Linked DNA regions of Homo sapiens: regions 1, 3 and 4 are each linked to region 2. The links are contacts of gene promoters, found by promoter capture Hi-C in blood cells and fetal thymus (Javierre and others, 2016). All regions are on one chromosome and are shown on one strand. The core of a region is centred on a gene start or on the middle of the fragment in contact, and the rest is flanking DNA. Distances in the headings are between cores, read along the strand shown. Region 1 has its middle 91 kb from the start of RANBP6. Region 2 holds the start of TPD52L3 (TPD52 like 3). Region 3 overlaps GLDC (glycine decarboxylase). Region 4 has its middle 75 kb from the start of RANBP6.

Evidence for each region. Contacts are between HindIII fragments. The CHiCAGO score rates a contact against its expected background, and 5 or more counts as called.
Region 1: a fragment that was not itself captured here is called in contact with the fragment with the promoter of TPD52L3 in region 2 in 1 of 17 cell types (endothelial precursors); the score reaches 5.4 in endothelial precursors.
Region 3: a contact is called between a fragment that was not itself captured here and the fragment with the promoter of TPD52L3 in region 2, in 1 of 17 cell types (endothelial precursors). The highest score is 9.2, in endothelial precursors.
Region 4: a contact is called between a fragment that was not itself captured here and the fragment with the promoter of TPD52L3 in region 2, in 1 of 17 cell types (endothelial precursors). The highest score is 5.5, in endothelial precursors.

Annotation. Positions count from the first base shown.
Region 1 is chr9:6,104,890-6,108,687 of GRCh38, forward strand. No RefSeq gene overlaps it. Among named protein-coding and RNA genes, the nearest start is that of RANBP6, 91 kb to the left of the region's middle. RefSeq lists enhancers at 1,621-2,121, 1,870-1,919, 2,122-2,622. The HindIII fragment of the contact is 1,256 bases long and covers 1,760-3,015 here.
Region 2 is chr9:6,326,584-6,330,107 of GRCh38, forward strand. It overlaps TPD52L3 (TPD52 like 3), which reads left to right and starts at 1,792. Exons shown (of 2, transcript NM_001001874.3): 1 at 1,792-2,379. The coding sequence starts at 2,013. It overlaps LOC107987046 (a long non-coding RNA gene), which reads right to left and starts at 1,685. Exons shown (of 3, transcript XR_001746614.2): 1 at 1,618-1,685. The HindIII fragment of the contact is 1,804 bases long and covers 531-2,334 here.
Region 3 is chr9:6,577,223-6,581,001 of GRCh38, forward strand. The region is part of intron 15 of GLDC (glycine decarboxylase); the gene reads right to left. Among named protein-coding and RNA genes, the nearest start is that of GLDC, 67 kb to the right of the region's middle. The HindIII fragment of the contact is 2,965 bases long and covers 174-3,138 here.
Region 4 is chr9:6,088,445-6,092,127 of GRCh38, forward strand. No RefSeq gene overlaps it. Among named protein-coding and RNA genes, the nearest start is that of RANBP6, 75 kb to the left of the region's middle. The HindIII fragment of the contact is 3,277 bases long and covers 464-3,683 here.

The sequences.
Region 1 (3,798 bases), core at 1,138-3,637, 220 kb before region 2:
TCATCATGTGACATAGATTTATTGACTTCACATCAGCATTTAAGTATTAACTTTATGTAATAGTATTTGGTTTGGGGATTGGGGTGTTTCTGGTTGTATGAAGGATAGTTGTATTATGTTAGGCATAATTATGACTTTATTATTGTCTTTATTTGAAGATTATGTATGATCTCAGGAGATGTGTAAGGGTTCAAGTTGACAAGGTGTGGGCCTGTTGTAGTTAATACTGAGTGTCAACTTGAATGGATTGAAGGATACAAAGTATTGATCCTGAGTGTGTCTGTGAGGGTTTTGCCAAAGGAGATTAACGTTTGTGTCGGTGGGCTGGGAAAGGCAGACCCACCCTTAATCTGGGTGGGCACCATCTAATCAGCTGCCAGCGTGGCTAGAATATAAGCAGGCAGAAAAATATGGAAAGAGAAACTGACCTAGCTCCCCCAAGGCTATATCTTTCTCCCATGCTGGATGCTTCCTGCCCTCAAACATCAGACTCCAAGTTCTTCAGATTTGGAACTGGGACTGGCTCTCCTTTCTCCTCAGCCTACAGATGGCCTATTGTTGGACCTTGTGACTGCATGAGTTAATACTTAATAAACTCCCCTTTATATATATATATATATATATATATTCCATTAGTTCTGTCCCTCTAGAGAACCCTGACTAATACAGGCAGCAAATATGTAACTGTTCACAGCATTTCACTTCATTCCCAGAATTGACAGGCAAGCAGTCATATGTCCTTCCTTTATGCTCATGGGTCCTATGGATGCAAGGTAGTGTTTTCTAAAAAAAAATAAAATAAATAAAAAATCAAAAAGATAAGAAAATTTGAAGGTATCAGGGCTGGTTTTGAATCCTGGCTCTGCTCTGACGCTTATTCCACACCCCAGAACAAGTTATTTAATCCCTGTAAGTCCCACTGTGCTCATCTGTGAGATGGGAATATCAATCCCTACAATGTTGGGTTGCTAGAAAAGATACATGAGATAGCACCTGGAACAGAGCAAGTACTTCATAAAAGTTGGTTTTTAGCCCTAGCCCTTTATGCCTCCATTTCCTGCCTTTGATCATCATTGGTGTGAACTTTTCTGCCTACTGAATAATAGAGAAATGCTTTGTGATGATAAGAACATAGCAGAGAATGAAGTGTGTAAATTCTGGGGCAGAGAAAATTCTCTGGACTAAACACACTTTAGTGTACATGAACATCCCTCCAAATTTTATCAGGCTGGTGCCTATATGTTTCAGCTTAAAATATACTTCCTGATAAGCAGAAAGAAAATTTTAAGTAATAGATAAATAACGTGTACACATGGACATACAGTGTGGAATGATAGACATTGGAGATTCCGAACGTGGGAAGAAAGCATAGGGTAAGAAATTACTTAGTGAGTAAAATGTATATTATTCTAGCAGTGAATACACTAAAAATTCAGGCTTTACCACCACTCAATATATCCATGTAACAAAATTGTACTTGTACTCCCTAAATTTATACAAATAAAAATTAACTTCTCTCTCTCTCTCTCTTCCTGGAGGAAAATAACTAGTAGGTTTCTTTTGGGTTGGATAGGACTTATTTGCTTTTCAACACCCAAAGAATAACTTTGAAAATGTTATTTTCAAAATAAATTGAGTGTTCCCTGGAAGTTGCTGTATTTTTTTAATTGGTTATTTTGGAGTAGTCTAGAAGACTTCCCTACAATTATTGTTTAAGCCTTAAAATAAACCCTTTAGTATACAAATTTGAAAAAATTAAAGCTTTCTTGAAAATAGATTTATATATACTCTATCAGAGTGCAAGCAGGAAACAGAAGCTACACCAGTTACTTGAACATAGAGACTTTAAGGAATGGTTGGTAACTAGGTAACTGAAAGGATTAAATTAACAAACAAACAAACAAAAAAACAACAATGAAAGTAACATGGAGATAGCAACTGCAGGAAGCAGCTACCACTCCTGGGGCTGGGGATAGCAGAGGGAAGTGCTTGGATTTATTAGAAGTTAGAAACTTTGAGAAAGGGCCCCACAACTTGTGCTGGCTGTGAGCTGGGATAAGCAGCCCTGTGGGCCTGCCACTGAAACCTTTGAGGACAGGGCACTATTTATAGCTCACTTGTGTCTATGAGGTGGGGGCATGATGAAGCTGTTTTTGCGAAAGTTGCAAAAACTGCAAATTGGAATCAGCTGCTGCTATGGAACGGCATGGGTGAAGAAGCACTCCTGGAGTGATCTTACAGAAACCACAAGCTGACAAGCCTATAGGGAACAAACTGAAAGGAACCTGTCCTTTCTCTCTCCTCCAGCCTGGCTGTCTCCCTCTGTAACACCCTCTAGTGACAGAGCCTAACTGGAGCAGCTGGCAAAGCTAAAAATGATGTTTTGAGTCCCAGGCCTGAATTGCATAAGTGTATAGAGAAGGGTAGCTGAGAGACAATAACTTAATGTAAAACTTGTTTGAAAATAGACCTCTAATGCAAAGGAAAGACACGTTGAGGAATTGATATCCTCTCATTCCTTTTTCTTCCCAACTCCTAATTCAAGGCTAAGAGAATGTTCCAAATTGTAATGGTATTTGGAGGATGATACAAGATGAAATGTGACCCAACATTTCTTTTCCACCTTGCCATGACTCCAGTGGCTCCAAGACATTTGTATTCCACAGACTGGTAAAATTTTCTATTTGTGGCAACTGACTTAGAGTTGATTGCTTTTTATTTTGTCTAGTGATAGCATTAAGTACCCAGTAGCATTTCATTAAAGAAAGAATATTTCAACCACCAAAACTCAGGAAGAACATAATCTCAGAGTAACGAGTAGTTCTTACATGGATGATTTTGCTTTTTTGAAAAACCCATTGTTAAAATGCAAATACTGAGGGACAGAAATAAATTAATATTTCTTATTTTTGTTTTTAAAAAAACTTTCTTTTGTTTTTATTTATTTATTTTTGAGACAGAGTGTCGCTCTGTCACCCAGGCTGGAGTGCAGTGGCGTGATCTCGGTTTACTGCAAGCTTTGCCTCCCGGGTTCACGCCATTTTCCTTCCTCAGCCTCCCAAGTAGCTGGGACTACAGGAGCCTGCCACCATGCCCAGCTAATTTTTTTTGTACTTTTAGTAGAGACGGGATTTCACCATGTTAGCCAGGATGGTCTCGATCTCCTGACCTCGTGATCTGCCCACCTCGGCCTCCCAAAGTGCTGGGATTACAGGCGTGAGCCACCATGCTCGGCCTCTTTTGAGACACGGTCTTGCTCTGGCACCCAGGCTGGAGTGCAGTGGTGTAAATACAGCTCACGGCAGACTCAAATCACCTGGGCTTAATTGATCCTCCCACCTCAGCCTCTTGAGTAGCTGGGACTACAGCCACCACACCTGGCTAATTTTTAAAAATGTTTTGTAGAGATGGGGTCTTGCCAAGTTCCCTAGGCTGGTCTTGAAATCCTGGGCTCAAGCAATCCTCCTGCCAAAGTGCTAGGATTGCAGGCATGGGCCTCCAAGCCCAGGTGAACAATCTTGATATTCATAAATTTGCATGGGTTTTACAGTTACAGTAATTGTAATAATCTGTAATTATTAAGAGCTTACTATGAACTAGGATTATGATGAGCACTATATATATGATTTAATCTTCCTCGTAAGTCTCCCAAGTGGGTCCCATTATCATCCCCATTACACATTAAGGAAAATGAGAATTGGTGAAGATGTGAGCCTAAGGTTACACAGCTAAGTGGCAGAGCTATGCCTAGAAGCCAGATCTTCTGACAACAAAGTCTGGCTGGGCTGCCTGGCTACC
Region 2 (3,524 bases), core at 542-3,041:
TCACTGCAAGCTCCGTCTCCCGGGTTCACGCCATTCTCCTGCCTCAGCCTCCCAAGTAGCTGGGACTACAGGCGCCCGCCACTACGCCCGGCTAATTTTTTGTATTTTTAGTAGAGACGGGGTTTCACCGTTTTAGCCGGGATGGTCTCGATCTCCTGACCTCGTGATCCGCCCGCCTCAGCCTCCCAAAGTGCTGGGATTACAGGTGTGAGCCACCGCGCCCGGCCACATTATTGATATATAGAAATGATACTGAATTTATATCCTGAAACTTTACTGAAGTCATTTATCAGTTCCAGGAGCCTTTTGGTGGAGCCTTTCGGGTTTTCTGGATATGGAATCATATCATCTGAAAAAGAAATAATTTGACTTCTTATTTTCCTATTTGAATGACAGGGTATGTCTTGATGTGGGATCTGGCAACTAAGTGTCTGAAAAGCTCAGTTTTGCTATGAGAAAAAAAACCATTCTCTGTCAAAAGGAATCAAGGCTTAATAAAAGATTTCATAGTATACACTGAAGGATGAGGAAGCTTATAAAGAAAATAGGCATCAAGGTTGGTGGTTGAAATAATACAGAGAAGTAAAATCAAGTGCAAGTTCAGATTTGGTGATTTGGAGTCTCAACTTTGAAGAGACAATGTGTGTTCTATATTATGTAGCATAATTCAGGGATTTCTTTACCCTTTAGTCTCAGGTTTGAAAGAGGAGTTCTGATTCAGAGTCTGGGAGTGTTCCTGAAACCACTAGTGTTTCTACAGGCAATAGAGGAAAAGTCTACCCTCTGGAACAAATTGGTTTTTAGGGAGTCCTTGCTGCCCTTTTCAGGCCTTTAAACACATAGCCAAATCCTCCATCAGCCTTCATGTTTACAAGAACAATTCTCACTTTTTAACTTAGGGAAACACACCACTCAGGACAAGGCAATAATAAACACTACTAAATTATGTGAAAGGGTTATAGAACATAAACTCAAAGGAGGGCTGAAGTTGGTTTGAATGCACAGCTGGATGCTTCATTGTAGCCACATAGGCATGAGTAGGGCAAACTGCTGAAATTTGCTGAGGATCAAATTATGTTCCACAAGATCATGCTCGCAAGAATTACAAGAATATCCAACAAAATCACTAGAGTCTAAGACTTGCTCAAGAATATTCTCTGAGAATAGGCAGCCATAGAATGAGCTAAGTGAAGCTCGACCACAAGACCTCACTGGATTAACGTCCTGATTTTTCCATTGCATAAGTTTACTCTCGGCAGAATTACGGTTGGGGGGAGGTTGGGGTGGCAGGTTGGCAGGGGAGAGTGGATCCACACTCTGATAGATCCTATTTAACTAGTTTTACTTTACTGTGCAGACTACCTCCCACAACAGGTAACCTTGAATGTAGGCAGACATGCTTCCAGAAATGTGAGTGGAGGTAGGGCGGAATAAAGAAAATGCAACTGCAAAACTGAAAATTCATACTAGCACAATGATGTTTAAATGATTTTCAAGTGTTGGAGCTGGTGTGGTGGAAAACAGTTGCCTGACGCTTTGGTTTGAAGGCCAGGGCTTGTCATTTACCATGTCAGGAGAAATTCCTCTCTTTTCGACAATAATCTCTGCACTGCCTACCTCAGGAGGTCCTCGCAATGCCAAAATGCCGCCAGTGTGGGTTGCGCCTCAGCTGAGCACTGATTCTACAGCCTCGCGGTTTGGGCGGGAAGTCCCACCTCCGCAACCCTGACCAGCCCGGCTCCCCACCCCCACCACCCGGAAGTGAACACCACGAGCTAGCGTGTCTACTTCACAGGCCAGGTCGTCAACTCAACTGTCAAGGTGTCCATTGTACCAGCTGGGCCATGGATCCCTCCCGCCTGAAATCTGACTCCACCTGCCAAGAGTCTGAGCCTGCAGGCCTAGATTTCGACTCTGCTGGCCAAGATTATTTCTCTGCAGCCCAATAATTCGACTCTTTCTACCAAGAATTGGACCTGGACTCTCTTAACGAAGATCTTCTTTCCCAGTCCATGCCACATGCCAGGACAGAGACCTCTGTGGGCACATATGAATCCCACTCGACTTCTGAACTGGAGGATCTGACAGAGCCCGAGCAAAGAGAGCTCAAAACCAAACTCACTAAATTGGAGGCTGAAATTGTAACCCTACGCCACGTACTAGCAGCCAAAGAGAGACGCTGTGGGGAACTCAAGAGGAAGTTAGGCCTCACCGCCTTGGTAGGGCTGAGACAGAATCTGTCCAAGAGCTGGCTTGATGTTCAGGTCTCCAACACCTATGTGAAACAGAAGACATCAGCTGCTCTGTCCACCATGGGCACTCTCATCTGCAGGAAGCTTGGAGGCGTGAAGAAGTCGGCCACATTCAGATCTTTTGAAGGTCTGATGGGGACAATCAAGTCCAAAGTCTCAGGGGGCAAAAGAGCTTGGCCCTGACTGTCTTTCTTCTGCGGAGGGTGGGGTTGATCTGCTCTCAGTTTTGGGGTGTGGGGAAGACCCACTCCAGATTCCGGGGAGTGGGAATGAGCCACTCCCAGTTCTGGAGAGTGAGGATGACCATCTCCACTTTCTGGAACCAGAATGAGCCCCCTTGGTAACCTTGCCTGGTACTAAACCAGTGCAAGGACCCCCTTCCCTTATTACATTTGCAACTCTGCCCAACAAAAACAAGCAAGCAAACCACAATGGTAAAGTGGTTAATTCAGGAAATTGACAGAATCCAGTTTTGAGAAAAGAACACAGATATTTGCTGCTTTTAAGATAGAGAACCCAAAGTTTTGTACCTGGTTATTTTTCACTTAAGTTTGTAGACGAAATGTGCCATTATATTAGCTTTCCTGAGACTGTATCTAATGGGCAAGTCAGTGGCTCCAGAGGGGTCTTAGGCCAAAGCCCAAACTCTCTTTTGGAAAACTAGCTTATTAGAAAGCCAAAGTAGAGTTCTGTTTAAGCTTGAAAGAGGTATGAAGTAATCTGTAGTGTTTTTTTGGTTTGTTTGTTTGTTTTCCCTTCCCCATTTCCTTCCTTCCCTCAGTCTCAAAGTCACCTTGAAAGCTTCACCTGGCCTACAACTTTTATTTTAAAAAGATGATCAAGAAAACTTCATCTTCTCTGAGACTCAGAAAAAGAGGGGAAAATAGTGGTAGTGCACTAATTGTTACATTACTAATATAGCTTTTGTAAAACTCGTTTGTTTTCAAAGGTCTGGACTAAGCAAAACAACAGTGTCAGTTTAGGAAATTATTACTACTTTGAACACAAACTGAAATTGCAACTTTGCCTTGTGCTTTGTTTATAATTTCTTTATATATCAAAATGAGTGTTTTAAAGTTTAACCCTTGAAGCAGCATGTCTTTGCCATAGCAGCACTTCACTTAAAAGGAAGAAATTGCCTCTCTGGCAGCAATTCCTAGTTAGTTACCACCTCCAGCTGAGGGGCTGGAGGAAAACAGGTATAGCCAAATTCAAGAAAGATAAACCCCTGTCTCAAGGAACATTTTAAAAAGAACGTCTGTCCCCTGTGAT
Region 3 (3,779 bases), core at 406-2,905, 250 kb after region 2:
TGGTCATTTGAGAACCAGAGAGTTGTATTCTGAGTCCACTTGATGTTAAATATTATCCTATTCTGCAGAGTTTGAACTGGGTGCCCTGGGAGACTACCTCACTGTATTTATTAGGATAGAGGTGCCGCTAGGGCAGATGGAGGTGGTTATGTTTTGCCTCCAGCCCCAGGGCAAGCTTCAAAGCCAACCTTATCCCATATCCATCAGCTGATGGAGGAACCCTCTGAGATCAGGAGAACCAGGTGCAAATGAGCCTATAACCAACTTACTATGCATTTAGTTGTTTCACAATACGCATGTTCTCCACCATAAAAATATCTTTTTTGAATTGACTAAATAACATATGATCAAGGCTTTAAAAATTTTAAATAATCTAAAAACATAAGGACAAAAAGTAAAATCACCTGATATTCTACCACCTAGAGACAACTGTTTGAGTCCCATCCTTTCATACATCTTTCCACCTATGCCCCTGTGCACACACACACACGCAGTTTTACGCAGCTAACATCTGTTGTACTAAATTTTATTTCACTATATTTTATTTTCTTATAATTCCCCTCCTCTCCTGCTCCCCATCTCTACGTTATTGATTTTTTTTTGCTCGAATCCTGATTCTTTCCTTCCTTCTGCTTGCTTTGAGCTTAATGTACTTCTTTCTCTGTTGTTTTAGGGTGGAAGATTAAGTTGGTTTAAGATCTTTCTTCTTTTTTCTTTTTTAAAACAGGGTCAACCAGGCTGGAGTGCAGCGGCACCATCACAGTTCACTGCAGCCTCAACCTCCTGGGCTCAAGCAATCCTCTGGCCTCGGCCTCTCGAGTAGCTGGGACTACAGAAACACGCCACTGTGCCCAGCTACTTTTTTAATTTTTTGTAGAGACTAAGTCTCACTATCTGGTCCAGGCTTCTTTTTTTTTCGAGACAGGATCTTGCTCTGTCACAGGCTGGGGTGCAATGGTGTGAACATGGCTCACTGCAGCCTAGACCTCTGGGTGTAAGTGATCCTCCCACTTCAGCCTCCCAAGCAGCTGGGACCACAGATGCATGCCACCACACCTGGCTAATTTTTTAATTTGTACAAAGAGGGTCCCACTATGTTGCCGAGGCTGGTCTTGAACTCCTGAGCTCAAGTGATCCTCCCACCTCAGACTCCCAAAGTGTTGGGATTACAAGCATGAATCATGGCACCCAGCTCTTTCTTCTTTTTTAATGTAGTTATTTACAGCTATAAACTTTCCTGTTAGCACTGTTTTAGCTACAGCCCGTGATGTTTGATATGCGGTATCTTCATTTTAATTAGTTGGAAAGTACTTCCTCTCTTTTTTTCTTCTCTTAGAAACAGAGTCTCACTCTGTTGTCTAGGCTGGAGTGCAGTGGCGTGATCATGGCTCACTGCAGCCTCAACCTCCTGGACTCAAGTGATCCTCCCACCTCAGCCCCCAAAGTAGCTGGGACCACAGGTGCTTGCCACCATGCTAGGCTAATTTTTTTGGAGAGATGAGGTCTTGCTATGTTGCCCAGGCTAGTCTTGAACTCCTGGGATCAAGTGATCCTCCTGCCTCAGCCTCCCAAAGTACTGCAATTACAAGCATGAGCTACTGCACCTGGCTTCAAAGTACTTTCCAGTTCTCCTTGTGATTCCTCTTTGTTCCACTGGTTATTTATAAGGGTGTTATTTAATTTCCACATATTTGTGAATTTTGCTCATCTTTCTGTTATTTCTAGTTTCACTCCATGTGATCAGCCTCTGTTAATCTGTTTTCAACATGCCCTTATGTTCCTAAATGTTTGTTAAGAAATCATTTATTTCTCTATGTTTTTAAATTTGTTGACACAGGGTAGCATATACTATTCCTTTATAATTCTTTGGATCTTATCTATATCTGGGTATGTTCTTTCTCATTTCTTATTTGTATATATATATTTTTTCCTTAGGCAAGAAAAGAGTTAACTGATTTCACTGGATCTTTCAAATAATCAGTTTTTGTATTTATTAATCCTTGTGACTATTTTATCTTCTAGGTCATTCATTCTAGCTTTTATCTTTAATCATTTCATTTTTTACCATCATTTTGGTTATACAATTTTTTTTCACTTCCTCAGATGAATATTAATTAACTCTTCCATGTTCTCATCCCCAAATGCTGAATCTTCTGAATCTGTCTTCTGAGTTCCTTAACTTTTCCCTCACAGCCTTAATCTGTATATTTTGGGTTTTTGTTTTGGAATATTTCCTCCAAGTACCTTTCCAAGTCACTAATTTTGTTTTCAAGAGTATCCCATCCTGATTATTTATTTGATAATTTTATTATTTTTTTTGTAGATGGGGTCTTACTATGTCACCCAGGCTGTTCTCAAACTCCTGGCCTTACGTGATCCTCCTATCTCAGCCTCCCAAAGTGCTGGGACTGTGAGCCACCGTGCCCAGTCCTGATTGTTTAAAATTGAAACTCATGGTTTTAGTTGCAGAATGTCCTTTTTACTTAATACTGAATGTCAGCCAGCTCTGAGATCGAAGTTGTATTGCTATAACTAGCTGACTTTGCCTCACGCCAGTGCCTATAACGCTGGCTGCCCGGGCAACCTGTTCTGAGCACTCTCCCTGTGCTTCCTCTCTGTTGCTGGGTCCAGTGAAGTGTGCAACTAAAATTTTCCCTTTGCTGGCTACGGCTCCATTCACCCTTAGGGCTGAGTTCAGGTTGCTGCAACATCTTCAGCAGCAGAACCAGTCTGCAAGCTGTCAGTCCTCTGTTGGGGGCAGTGGGAGCATCACTGGGAGAATCTCCTCATCTACAAAGGCTAGAATCCACACAGTCTCAGAACTACGGAAGACCTGGCCCCACTCTTCATTTCCCCTGAAGCACCCTGAAGGCCAGAGAGACCTTCGACCCAGGAACATTCCTTCAGACAACTGCCTTTCGTCTCAGGGTTTGTGGATCTCCATAAGCCAAGTTCTCTTCAGGCCCCAAAGAACTCTTACCCTCACCCTAGGGCTCCTTGACTCTTGCAGGCTCTCTGCTTCTATAATTGCAGGACCAGCCCACACTGGGCCTGTTCTGTTGATAACAAAATGTTGAGTTACCTTATAACAGAGTCCACAGTTGCAAGTCATGTAGTCTGGGAATGTGCAATAGAAAAAGCTTTGACTTCTAACGACACCCAGAACCAGGGATTCCGCCCCTCGGAACCAACAAGGCTGGAAGAGAACCAGACCCTGCATGCCAGAACTTCTTCAGAAGTGAGGGGTCTACTGATCCGGAAGATGTAGGGCTCAGCATACCTTACCGTAAGCTGTCAAATCTGAAGCCCTCTAATTAGACCTTGCCAAGCCAGCATTCCCAAATCCCTTCCCCTGCCTTCTGATCCCTTAAAACTTGCCCCAGATCCCAAATAGAGGAGAGAAATTTCAGCTGACTCTTGTCTCCTTGCGGGCTGGTTTTGCAATAAATAAAGCCCTTCTTTTCTCAAAAGCTGGTGCCATAGTTATTGGCTTCTGTGCACATCAGGCAGCAAGCCCATCTGCTCCATAACACTTCCTGATCCTACCTGCCTATCAGTCCCCTTCTCCATTCAGGACCCACTCAGGCTGCCATCTTCCCCTGAAAGGCACTGGCATCTCTTCTTCCTTAATCTAGTTATATAATACTTATTATCCATTTGCCAAAGGCCATGCCTACTATAGGCAACCTGTAGCAGACAGGATCATTGTGCTGCTCACAGGTCTTTGTTTCATCCTGAAGCTTACTTCCAGCTTCTGTGGACAGCTCCGACATAAAATG
Region 4 (3,683 bases), core at 852-3,351, 240 kb before region 2:
TCTTCTTGCAGGGAATAAAGATGTGAGTCTTCCCATTGAGAGAGAATGTATAAGTCACATGGACTTAATAATTTAGTTCTTTATAATTTAAAATTTCTCACCATAAATTGATAAATTGACATTCTAGTGCATACGTCACTCTACGGACCTATTTAATTAGAGTTTACCTTGAGAGATAAACCCGGTCTTGATATTTTTCAAATTAGTTTTCTTAGACTACAAGATTGAAGAAAAGACTATGAGAAATTCTTCACAGCTTGTGAGGCTTTTTAGGAGTTAGACACTACCAGCCTCACCTGGCAACAACCTAAATACAAAAATAAAAATATAAATGAAATACATAATATAAAAATAAAGCTTTTCTTTTGAAATTCAGGGGATTGCATATTTGTATTAATACATAAAAGCTCCACTGAAGAAAAAACAAAATGTGACTTAGAGGCAACCCATGAGGAGGCGTAAAAGCTTTCTTCTTCACAAGGCTACCCCACGCTGGCTAACGATTTCTTCAACCAATTATACTGTCTCTTGCGGAATTTGAATGTGAGACATACAGAGAAGTACACAAATGGTAGAGAAACACAGAAACAGACAGCAATGCAGAAAACACTATAAAAGTCAAAGCCATCAGGTAGCAAAGTCATGAATAAGCAGAAAATCATGAATAAGTTGAAACAATATCAGGTGGTATGAGTTGTGTGATACCTTGATGATGATCCATATCTCTTTGAAACCTGCTGAAAATATGTAGATAGTTTCACATTTCTCATTTTCTCATTCATCTTTATAATGTACCACTTAAGATGATCTTAGTGGGCCTATGTACCTTACAACTTTTAATAGTTATTAGCACAAATATTTCCCAAATCTATTACCTCATATTCGTGCCCATTTCCCTGCCCAGATTAAGCCTTCATTGTTATTCATATAGATGACTAGAAAAATAATTCATAGCTTCCCAGCTTTCACTTTTCCATCACATAACACAGATCTTATCATGTCACTCTCTCTGTGTTCATGAATAATGCATATGTGAGAACTGGATGTCATAAAACAGTGAATCATGGGGTTGGCTGTAGAACCATTCCATCTGTGTATGTGCATAGGCCTGGGAGATTGAGAGTTGGAGGAGCCTTATCATACACTTTGAGTAGGGAGGTGAGAACCAGAAAATTAGAGGTAGTTTCATTCACTCCTCTGGTTTCCATCACCTTGTATATGCTGATGACCTCTACTTCAATTTCTCCACCCTCTTCTGACCTTAGATGCATATAGCCAACTGTTTACCCCACATCTCCGCTGGGAGGACTTATAGGCACCTGAATCTCAACATGTCTAAAACAAAGCTCATCAGCTTTCCCTTCCTGTGAGGGTGATTTCATTTCTCTCTTTAGAGACTGGCATCACTATTTGTTCAAGCCAAAAAACCAAGAGTCCTCTCCCTCTTCTTCTCCCTCATTCTTCATTTATAAGAAATCACCAAGTTCTCTTGATTTTACTTCTTTAATGTTTTTTTCAATCTGAGCTCTTCTCTCTATTTCACTGAATTACTTTAATCTGATCCATCTCTCTCATGTAGGTAATTCACAGGTCTTTCTCACCTAATCTAGGATCTTCCCAAATGCATTCACTACGCTGCATCCATCCACAGGTGGCTATTTAAGTAAATTATGATACACCTATACAATGTAACACTGAGTAGCCTTTAGAAAGAAGGAGGCAGATTTGCATGTGCTGAATATTTGATAAAAATGCAAATAACTGAATAGCATGTATTGTATTATCTTCCTAGGCAAATTTACAAAGTATATGAAATGTTGTTGCTATAGTTTCATTTGTTTGCCCCCCTCCAAATCTCATATTGAATGTTGAAGCCCAGTGTTGGGAGTGGGGTCTAGTGGGAGATGTTTGGGTCATGGGAGCAGATCCCTCATAAATGTCTTGGTGCCATCCTCTTTGTAATGAGTGAGTTCACACTGTGCTAGTTCCTGCAAGTGCTGGTTGTTAAAAATAGCCTGGCACCTCCCAGCTCTCTCTCTTGCATCTTCTTCACCATGTGACCTCTGCATACACCAGCTTCACTCTGCCTTCTGCCACAAATGAAGGGGGCCTGAGGCTCTCATCAGAAGCAGATGCTGGTGCCATGGTTCTTGTATAGCCTGCAGAACCATGAGCCAAATAAACCTCTTTTCTTTATAAATTACCAGCTTCAGGGTAATTTATAAAGTCTGTTGTGTTGTTATCACAATACAAACAGACAAAGACAGCTGTCATATGCACATGTAGATGATTTTAATTATTTTTCTAAGGATTCCAAAGAAAATGCCTACAGGGAGAAATACTCAGAGCCTAGAGTGGTTGAGGCAGAGGATGTGGATACTTTCCTTAAAAGGCAGAGGGTGTGGTGACCTTCTGTTATGAAAAATTCTAAACATACACATAAGTAGGGAGAATAGATAATTCCTTTCTTCATGATCACCCAGCTTCAATAATGATTAACTTGTAGTCAATCTTGTTTTGTTTATGTCCTCACTCACTCTACTTCTAGTTCTACTGTTATTATTTTAAAGCAATTTTCAGGTGTTACAGAATTTCATTAGTGGAATACTTCAGTATATATCTCTAAGATAATGTTGTCCAACAGGATTCTCTGCAATGATGAAAATATCCTATATATGTACTTTCCAATACTATCTACGAGCCATACATGGCTAATCAAGCACTGGAAATGTGACTGATGTGGCTGAGGAACTAAACTTTTTAAGTTTTTCCTATTTTAATTGACTTAAATCTAAATGTAAACAGTCACGTGTGGCTAGGGGCTACACAACTGGACAGTATAGCTCTTAGATATAAGGATTCTTTTAAAAATTTATAACTAAAATAGACCAGGCCAGGGTGGCTCATACCTGTAATCCTAGAACTTCGGGAGACCCAGGTGGGAGGATCGCTTGAGGTCAGGAGTTCAAGTTTACAGTGAGCTATGATTGCAATGCTGCACTCCAGCCTGGGGAACAGAAAGAGACTCTGTCTAAACAAACAAACAAACAAACAAAACAAAACACAACTGAAATATGTCACATCTAAAAATGAGTACCATTTCCTGAATATTATCAATTTCCAATTGCAGTGCTCAAAATTTTTCAGATATATCATAAATATTTTTTGTTTGCTTTTTTTGTTTTTGAAATGGGTCTTGCTCTGTTGCCTGGGCTATAGTGCAGTGGTATGAGCATGGCTCATTGCAGCCTCAGTGTCCTGAGTAGCTGGGACTGCAGGTGCACATCACCATGCCTGGCTTTGTTTTGTTTTATTTTGTAGAGATGAGGTCACTATGTTGCCCAGGCTGGTCTTGAACTCCTGAGCTCAAGTGATCCTCCTGCCTTGGCCTCTCAAAGTGCTGGGGTTACAGGCATGACTCATTGGTCATAATTTTAATAGTTGCTTTGCTTGAAACTAAATCCATACACTTTATTGTTTGTTGATATGTTTCTTAAGTTCTTTTAATCTAAAGTTTTGATAAGGATGCATTAATTTTCATTTTATGCCAACCTACATAGTTTGAATTTTTAAACAATTTTAAACCATGAATATATCATTTTTAATCACTAGTGTACCATCAGAGATTGTCTAGGTGGTAGGACTATATGCCAATACTTGTTATTATTAAAGAATGCTTGCCT